Regions from separate parts of the Homo sapiens genome. Here regions 1 and 3 are each linked to region 2. Evidence: promoter capture Hi-C in 16 types of primary human blood cells and fetal thymus (Javierre and others, 2016). All regions are on one chromosome and are shown on one strand. Each heading gives the region's core, a stretch centred on a gene start or on the middle of the fragment in contact. The rest is flanking DNA. Distances are from core to core; before and after follow the strand shown.

What was found. Contacts are between HindIII fragments. The CHiCAGO score rates a contact against its expected background, and 5 or more counts as called.
Region 1: a fragment that was not itself captured here is called in contact with the fragment with the promoter of THOC2 in region 2 in 1 of 17 cell types (M0 macrophages); the score reaches 5.1 in M0 macrophages.
Region 3: a fragment that was not itself captured here is called in contact with the fragment with the promoter of THOC2 in region 2 in 1 of 17 cell types (total B cells); the score reaches 5.1 in total B cells.

What each region holds. Positions count from the first base shown.
Region 1 is chrX:123,992,434-123,995,521 of GRCh38, reverse strand. All of the region lies in intron 1 of STAG2 (STAG2 cohesin complex component), which reads right to left. Among named protein-coding and RNA genes, the nearest start is that of STAG2, 32 kb to the right of the region's middle. The HindIII fragment of the contact is 1,345 bases long and covers 689-2,033 here.
Region 2 is chrX:123,731,649-123,734,537 of GRCh38, reverse strand. THOC2 (THO complex subunit 2) reads left to right here and starts at 1,486. Exons shown (of 39, transcript NM_001081550.2): 1 at 1,486-1,586. The coding sequence starts at 1,516. RefSeq lists an enhancer at 1,471-1,550. The HindIII fragment of the contact is 10,140 bases long and covers 1-2,358 here.
Region 3 is chrX:124,076,834-124,079,702 of GRCh38, reverse strand. It overlaps STAG2 (STAG2 cohesin complex component), which reads right to left. Exons shown (of 35, transcript NM_001042750.2): 27 at 1,645-1,746. Among named protein-coding and RNA genes, the nearest start is that of STAG2, 120 kb to the right of the region's middle. The HindIII fragment of the contact is 5,321 bases long and covers 1-2,869 here.

The sequences.
Region 1 (3,088 bases), core at 112-2,611, 260 kb before region 2:
GGGGTTTCACCATGTTAGCCAGGATGGTCTCGATCTCCTCACCTCGTGATCCACCCGCCTCGGCCTCCCAAAGTGCTGAGATTACAGGCGTGAGCCACTGCTAATGATCTTTTTCTTACTGACTCCAAAGAGCTCTTTATATGTTAGGATAAATAGCCTTTCAGGCTTCTTAAGTCAAAAGTTCTCTCCACTGCTTCCACAGAGATGATTTCCTGCTAAAACGGATTCGTTGTGCAAAAGCCCTACCATATCTCCCTAGTCGTGACTAAACCTTTTCCATAAAGGCTTTATCTTGTAGCCTGCTCATCTCTTTACCTGCTCCCATTGTCACATACAAAGGATATTATTGTATTTTACAGTCAAGCTTTCTAAGATCTACCATCTCTGGGCCAGCTCACTATTCTCCACACTTCTTTGATGCACGACCTACCGGCCCCTCTACACATTTTTTGTAATCGGCACATTTTATGTCTCCAAGTGTGCTAAAAATAGGAGTTTGCAGAGGTTTTTTGTTTACGTTGTTGTTTCTGTATTATACGAGAGGGAAAAAAATGCTTTTATACTACCATGGTAATACCAGAAGTGTTACCAAAATACTTACGCAAGTAATAGCATAACATGGTTTCTACAGCAAATCAACTTCCCCTAAATACTAATCAACGCTGAATTTGTTTTTAAGTTAAAAGCTTTTCCCAAGGTCACACAGCTAAGAGGCAAGAATCTAGGCTTGAACTCATCTTCTACATATTTGTCTCATAAATATATACTTGTCTTACTAGGATAATCCACATAATAGCTCTTCAGAACAAAAATAAGACTACACTCTTAAAGTATTGTGAATCACTCAATTTCAAACATAAGGTCTTAATTTCCTTCCTTTGTACTTAAGGAACTATCTAAAACTATCACATAGAAACCCCTGAAATATCTTACTCTTCATTCAATACATGCAATAAAAATAATAGTTTCCTTACAATTGTGTACACAAAACGATCTTTAGCAAAATCTTGAGCAGCAGAAAATCCCCAACAGCTGCACTTTACCATCAATCTTATTATAAAGCAATAGGCATTTGCTTTGGGTTAGATATGGTTTGTTTGTCCCCACCAAAACTCATGTTGAAATTTGATCCCCAACGTGGCTGTGTTGGGAGGTAAAGCCTACTGAGAGGTGTTTGGGTCATGGTGGCAGATCCCTCATGAATGACTTGTTGCCAATCTTTTGGTAATGAGTGAGATTCTGAGTTCTCACTCTGGTGAGACTGGATTAGTTCTCCTGGAAATGGATTCATTCCCAAGAGAGTGGGGCTGTTGCTATAAAGCCAAGCTATCCCTTGGGTTCTCTCTTTGAATGTGTCCACTTCCCCTTTGACCTTATCTACCATGTTTTGACCTAGCAAGTAACCATCACCAGAAGCCAAGTAGATATGGTGCAATGCTTCTCTTATTTTCCAGACTGTAGAACACTGAGCTAAAACCTCTTTTGTTTATAAATTACCCAGCCTCGGGTGTTCTGTTACAGCAAAACACAAATGGACTAAGACAGCATTTACTGCCTGTAATTATACTTCCTAAAGAGGAGCAGTAACTCCCCCATAATGCCTATAGGTGGTTGTTTAATAAATAAATTATGGAAAATTCCACCTATATGAGAGCAGTTCTCTTAAATTCCAATATGCATAAAAATCATATAAAATGTTCGTTTAAATGCATGGTCACAGGTCCGACATCCAAGGACTCATTCAGTAGATCTGTATACAGGTCTCAGGTATTTGTATTATTCATAAATCCCCTAATATAGGTGAATCCATACTCCACTTTAAGAAAAGCTATTCTAAGTCATGGAATCAGCAACCTGTTATATATAGGATTACCCAGTTTTAGAGAAACAGGAGGTATGAGTAGCTAGGGAAGAGAAGCAAACATTCTCCCTGCTTCCTGCCTTGGGCCACTTAATCATCTGAACATTATTCACTCAAATGCCAGGAACCCACAGCTCAATGATGCATTTCCCCAGAATGTCCTTAAGAAGCTTTCCAGAGAATAAGCCACCAGTGGCCACACTACTCTTCTTTCCACAAGAAAAAAAAAATGTACCTTTCCTGAAAGGTATTGCTCAAATTTAAGGTAAGCGAGATTGAAAATCTCCAGGAAGTTCATTCCATATAGATTTCAACTCACCACTGGGATCTTCCCCGATTTTCTTTAAATGGAATTTTTTTAAAAATTGTTTTTTGTGTAGAGTCAAGGTCTCACCAAGTTGCCCAGGCTGGTCTTGAACTCCTGGACTCAGCCTCCTAAAGGGCTGGGATTACAGGTGTGAGTCACTGTGACTGGCTCCTCTGTTCATTTTCTATCTTCTACAGAAACACTAAGCCACCCAGTTTTTAGTCTAAATAACTCAAAAGTTTACCCAACTAGAAAAATGTATCGTTTAAGAAAAATACAAGGTATCATTTTTAGGCACTTATATTTAAATATAATCAATCCCAACAAGATCCTGCAAAAACCAAAGACCTGCTTTTTCTATTAATAAAATTGAACCTACAGTTTCAATCACAATGTTTGTCTCATTATTCCATGGAAAGTACTCATTCCCATCTCTGTTTCTCCAGCCTGTAACCATAACCACCCCCTTTGTACTCAATGCAGAATCATTCTTTAAGGACCAGTTAAAACCATAGGACAGGCACAGTAGCTCACGCCTGTAACCCCAGCACTTTCGGAGGCCAAGGCGGGCAGATCTCTTGAGCTCAGGAATTTCAGACCAGCCTGGGGAACATGGTGAGACCCCGTCTCTACAAAAAAATTCAAAAATTAGCTGGACATGGTGGTGTGTGCCTGTGGTCCCAGCTACTTGGGAGGTTGATGTTGGAGAATTGCTTAAGTCTGGGAGGTAGACGTTTCAGTGAGCCGAGATTGAGCCACTGCACTCCAGCCTGGGAGACAGAGGGAGACCCTGTCTCCAAGAAAAACACAGCATTTGTTCCATGAAACTCTCCCTACTACAGCCCTCAATGAATTGATCTCTTCGAGTGCAGTAAACTTAGACTCAAATGCACAAAGTAAAAAGGCTACGGAAATTTAAA
Region 2 (2,889 bases), core at 237-2,736:
CTATTCCACAAAACCGCCATTGTCATCATGGCCCGTTCTCAATGAGCTGTTGGGTACACCTCCCAGACCGGGTGGTGGCCGGGCAGAGGGGCTCCTCACTTCCCAGTAGCGGCGGCCGGGCAGAGGCGCCCGTCACCTCCCGGACGGGGCGGCCGGCCGGGCGGGGGGCCGACCCCCCCACCTCCCTCCCGGACGGGGCGGCCGGCCGGGCGGAGACGCTCTTCACCTCTCAGACGGGGCGGCTGCCGGGCGGAGGGTCTCCTCACTTCTCAGACGGGGCGGCCGGGCAGAGACGCTCTTCACCTCCCAGACGGGGTCGCGGCCGGGCAGAGGCGCTCCTCACATCCCAGACGGGGCGGCGGGGCAGAGGCACTCCCCACATCTCAGACGATGGGCGGCCAGGCAGAGACGCTCCTCACTTCATCCCAGACGATGGGCAGCCGGGCAGAGACGCTCCTCACTTCCTAGACAGGATGGCGGCCGGGCAGAGACGCTCCTCACTTTCCAGACTGGGCAGCCAGGCAGAGGGGCTCCTCACATCCCAGACGATGGGCGGCCAGGCAGAGAGGCTCCTCACTTCCCAGACGGGGTGGCGGCCGGGCAAAGGCTGCAATCTCGGCACTTTGGGAGGCCAAGGCAGGCGGCTGGGAGGTGGAGGTTGCAGCGAGCCGAGATCACGCCACTGCACCCCAGCCTGGGCACCATTGAGCACTGAGTGAACGAGACTCCGTCTGCAATCCCGGCACCTCGGGAGGCCGAGGCTGGCGGATCACTCGCGGTTAGGAGCTGGAGACCAGCCCGGCCAACACAGCGAAACCCCGTCTCCACCAAAAAAATACGAAAAACAGTCAGGCGTGGCGGCGCGCACCTGCAATCGCAGGCACTCGGCAGGCTGAGGCAGGAGAATCAGGCAGGGAGGTTGCAGTGAGCCGAGATGGCAGTACAGTCCAGCTTTGGCTCGGCATCAGAGGGAGACTGTGGAAAGAGAGGGAGAGGGAGACCGTGGGGAGAGGGAGACGGGAGAGGGAGACGGGAGAGGGAGAGGGAGAAGGAGAGGGACCCGATTATTTTCTTTTATCTCAGCAGTCAGCAGGGCGTAATGTAATTTATTTGCTTATATTTATGGCTTTCCCAAAGACTATTATTTCTCTATTCCCAGTGTCTAGCACATATTAGGTGCTTGAAAAATGCGTGTTTGTATTAGTGGTTAGGGGTAGATATTACGGAAGAAGATGAAGTCTACTTGTTGGCCTGTGGATGGCATTTCTCTGTTCTAATGGGAAGTAAGGCCGAAGACTTCGGAGGGCGCAACCCGTGTAGTAACCTCGCAAAGGGGCCCGCGAGTCTCCACGTCGTTGGCTGCCTTGCCTCGGGTTTCCGCTGGGTGGAGAGGAAAGTGGGGCGGGAAATCGAAAAACGAACTCTCAGCTCCCGGCATTCCTCGTGGGCGGTGCTCCCCTTTGACCCTTCGCTCGCGTGCTACACATCCGGGCTTCTGCTACTAGTGAGAGGAAGATGGCGGCCGCGGCTGTGGTGGTTCCCGCAGAGTGGATAAAGAACTGGGAGAAATCAGGGAGAGGCGAATTGTGAGTGTTCGGGCCGGAGGCAGGCGCACTGCCGGGCCGGGCCAGGGCGTCAGCTGCACTCTCACCTGTAGTGGGAGGTTGAGGGGGAAAGATGTACCCCCTCCCCCACCCGGGCGGCGGGCGTGGATGGTCGTCTAGGAGTTTCGAACTCGGGGAGAGGTGCTGTTTACCGCCGCGGACCTCCTTCCTTCCCTGGCCTCCCAGAAATCGCTACTGCCTGCGGTAGCTCGGCTTCCTTTAGCCTCTTAGTAGAACTCTTATTCCGCCCCTGCAGGTCTCCGCGCTCCCTCTTGGTCTCTTTTTGTGTCCCCCTCTTCGCTTGATCTCACTTGGCTCCTTTATCTTTATGGGGCTGAGCCGGGGCAATTCGGACTTTCCATCTCTCTCTGTGCCATTTCTTCACTCTGCACCCGTTGGACTCCGCAGTTTGGAGCTTGGCGCCTCCTCTGCCTGAAGTCCAAGGAGGGCGAACCGTCCCGGATTCCCCTCCCCTCCTCTTCGCCCGCTGCCGCGAAGCCCGGGGCGCCGCGAAGAACCCGGTTTGGCACCTCTCGCCCTCCCGGGGAGCGGTCTCTCGACTGTCCCGGCCTCGCGTAGCGCCGTGGGGAAGTGTGGCAGGGATTGCCGCTTTCCCTGAAGAACCACCGACATTTCTTTGCTCCGTCTTTTCACCTTAGAGCTATTTCGGGTTGGATTCAACTTTCGTCATTAAATGTTCCCTAAACCCCATTTTATCCTGGGACTGCAACTAATTCTGGCAGCTCTCCAAGCTTCTCCAGTACCTAGGATAACGCGTTTCCTTTAGTCGTGAAACTTTCCCCCGTAACACCGAAAACAGTAATTTGCCATACCCCTAGTCTTCTCGCCCCCACGTTAGAGCGCTCCCTCCTCCCCTTCCCCTGGAAGGAGTCGTTTAAGCAGCAAAGCAAACCTCAGATATAAGAACAAATATTAATAACATCTCATTTCCTTCTCTGGGTCGCTTTTAGATGCTAAAGCTCAACCCTGGATGAAATTAACCCTCGTTAGCCATTTTTGTCGTCCTTGCCCACCCCTCTCCATTTCTAGTAGCCAGTTTACCGTGGCTCATGCTAAAGATTCAAATCTTTGTAACTTCGTTACTTGGAACGAAACACGAGGAACGCGTTGCCGGATCCCGCGCTTGTAATAGTGCCAGCCTATGTGGCTTCCTCCCCCGCACCCCCCGCACTGCTGTATGAAGTCTTAACAGTGTGAGCTCTAGAATTCCCTAAATAAGCGGCTGTCTTAGCCACTTAAGTAGCTGAGTGACCTTGGGTAAGTT
Region 3 (2,869 bases), core at 118-2,617, 350 kb before region 2:
GCTATTACTTTATAGCAAAAGTTATTTTTTAAATGCCATCTTTTCAACCTTTTAAATTTTATTTATTTTTCTTTCTTCATTTTCTGTAGAGATGGGCTCTTGCTATGTTGCCCAGGCTGGCCTCCAACTCCTGGGCTCAAGCAATTCTCAACCTTGGCCTCCCAAAGTGCTGGGATTACAGGCATCAGCCACTACACCCAGCCTACATTTTATTAATTTTAATAGAGAAAATTCAAATTCTCAAATAAAATTAAGAACATTCCTGGCTGGGTACGGTGGCTCACGCCTGTAATCCCAGCACTTTGGGAGGCCGAGGCAGGTGGATCACGAGGTCAGGAGATTGAGACCATCCTAGCTAACACGGTGAAACCCCGTCTCTACTAAAAATACAAAAAAATTAGCCGGGTGTGGTGGCGGGTGCCTGTAGTCCCAGCTACTTGGGAGGCTGAGGCAGGAGAATGGCGTGAACCTGGGAGGTGGAGCCTGCAGTGAGCCAAGATCACGCCACTGCACTCCAGCCTGGGCGACAGGGCGAGACTCCGTCTCAAAAGAAAAGGAAAAAAAAAAAAGGACATTCCTAAAAGAAAGTTCATTAAGTTGGAATGGGTTGGGTTGGGTTTTGCATGCAAATTTTGTCTCCAAAGACAAAAGTATACTAAGTCAGTAATTTTATCTAATTAAATGCCTCAACACTGCCAAAATGAAAACTATTGGTTTTTTTGTTTGTTTGTTTTGAGACAGAGTCTCACTCTGTCGCCCAGGCTGGAGTGCAGTGGCATGATCTTGGCTCATTGCAACCTCCACCTACGAGGTTCAAGCAATTCTCGTGCCTCAGCCTCCCAAGTGGCTGGGATTATAGGCTCACATCATCATGCCCAGCTAATTTTTGTATTTTTAGTAGAGACGGGGTTTCACCATGTTGGCCAGGCTGGTCTCGAATTCCTGATCTCAGGTGATCCACCCACCTCAGCCTCCCAAAGCACTGGGATTACAGGAATGAGCCACTGTGCCTGGCCAAAACTATTGTGTTTTAGTTATAAAATTAATATATGCTCACAAAAATAAGTTTGGAAATATACAGAGAAAAAAGTAGAATTCAACATGAAATCTACCAAAACAAGTTAACCACTGTTAATATATTTTGTGATTATGAAGCTCTTTATACATTAATGAATATAGATCTACACTAATTTTAAGTGTTGTACAACGGTCATCGCAGAAATGTACTATACAGTAAATTTATCTAATATCCTAATAGACTTTTAGATTATGTCTTACTTCCTATAAACAACATTGCAATATACAACTTTGTATATCAACTTTTGCAAACTTGTCTTATCACCTTGGATAAAAGAGTAGATTTAAAAAGTAGAATTGCTGCCTCAAATGGCATACACATTATAAATTTTTACATAAATTGCCAAATTGCCTACCATATCTATATTTCCTCCATACCTTAGATAGCTATAGGTTTTGCCAATCTTGACAGTTTGAAAGCAAAAAAATAATCTCACTTATACTTTCTTGTATTTCTACTTTTATAAATTGCCTATTGCACACTTTGCCCAATTTCAACTGCTACCTTATTTTGCTAACTATTAGGTGTTAATTGTGTTAGCTAAAGTTGGTACTCTTAATGCTTACCTGTTGCAGACTGAGAATAAGGGTCTTAGCACACTGAATTTTGTCTATCTGCCTTGTTTTACTCATTGTTTCTTTGATGATATCTCCATAGTCATTATAATACTATAAAGAAATTTGTACAAATTAGAGCTTTATCTCTTAAAACTACTTGACAATAAGACAAATTTTAGGTTAGTCATGTAAACACGTCACAAAGTATGTATTTAGCCAAAATTATGCCTTCAAAGGCAGGAAAGAATGTTACTGAAACCTAAAGATCATTTCTAAGCATACAATCCCTAACTTCAGTAAAATCATATATACAAAACAGTTAAGATCTAATCAAATTAAGCTCCAGACTTGGTTAAAATAAAGACGGTATACTGGTCAGTTTTAGTCAAAACAACAATTAGGTTATGCAGATTTTCAGAAGTAACACAAAATGTACAAACAAAATTCTCTTTGTAAAACAATAAATATAATCTCAGTTACACTTATAACTAATTCATTGATACCGGGTATACAGGCCACGAGCAGTTTAAAACTTTATTAATTTGGCTTATAGAATCTAACAGCCTATAAACAACTTTTAAAAGGAAAGCATATAAACAACTTTTAAAAGTTGTTTATATGACATTTACATTACACATTGCACATGAAATTTTTTCCTAATTTAAGATTGTGTTTCAAACACGTACAATAACAATTATCAGAGATAACAGAATAACCACGTCCCTATGACTAGTAAGTGACTTTAGAATACCTAAGACTAAAACTTTAAAATTTGTTAAATAACTTCATAAACAACCTTAGTTTAAAAAAAAAAAAACCTGGTAATTATCATCCCAAATGATTTAAGTTCCAAAATAATTTTCAATGATATTAGAGTTCAAGTAGCAAAATATTCCAGAGAGGATTAACTAGGTTTAAATATATTACATATTTTATTTCTTGAAAGCAAAGGCTTTAAAAAGTTTACATTTATAATTAGATTTTAGTTGAGGAAGGATTTTTAAGCTATCTTACCACATTTAGTCACATTCTGTTAGTATAATCAACAATATCCTGTTTATCACTACTTTCAACTTAACAAAACCTCACATATAGTTATGAAAATTATGAATAACCTATGGTTAATCAAATCAGACTTTGAGAACCAAAGGGGAAAACCTTAACAATCACAGTGGAACAGATAAAGGAACTCAGGTCACAAAATGCTTGGAGTTATTCAAGGTCGCAAGATGCA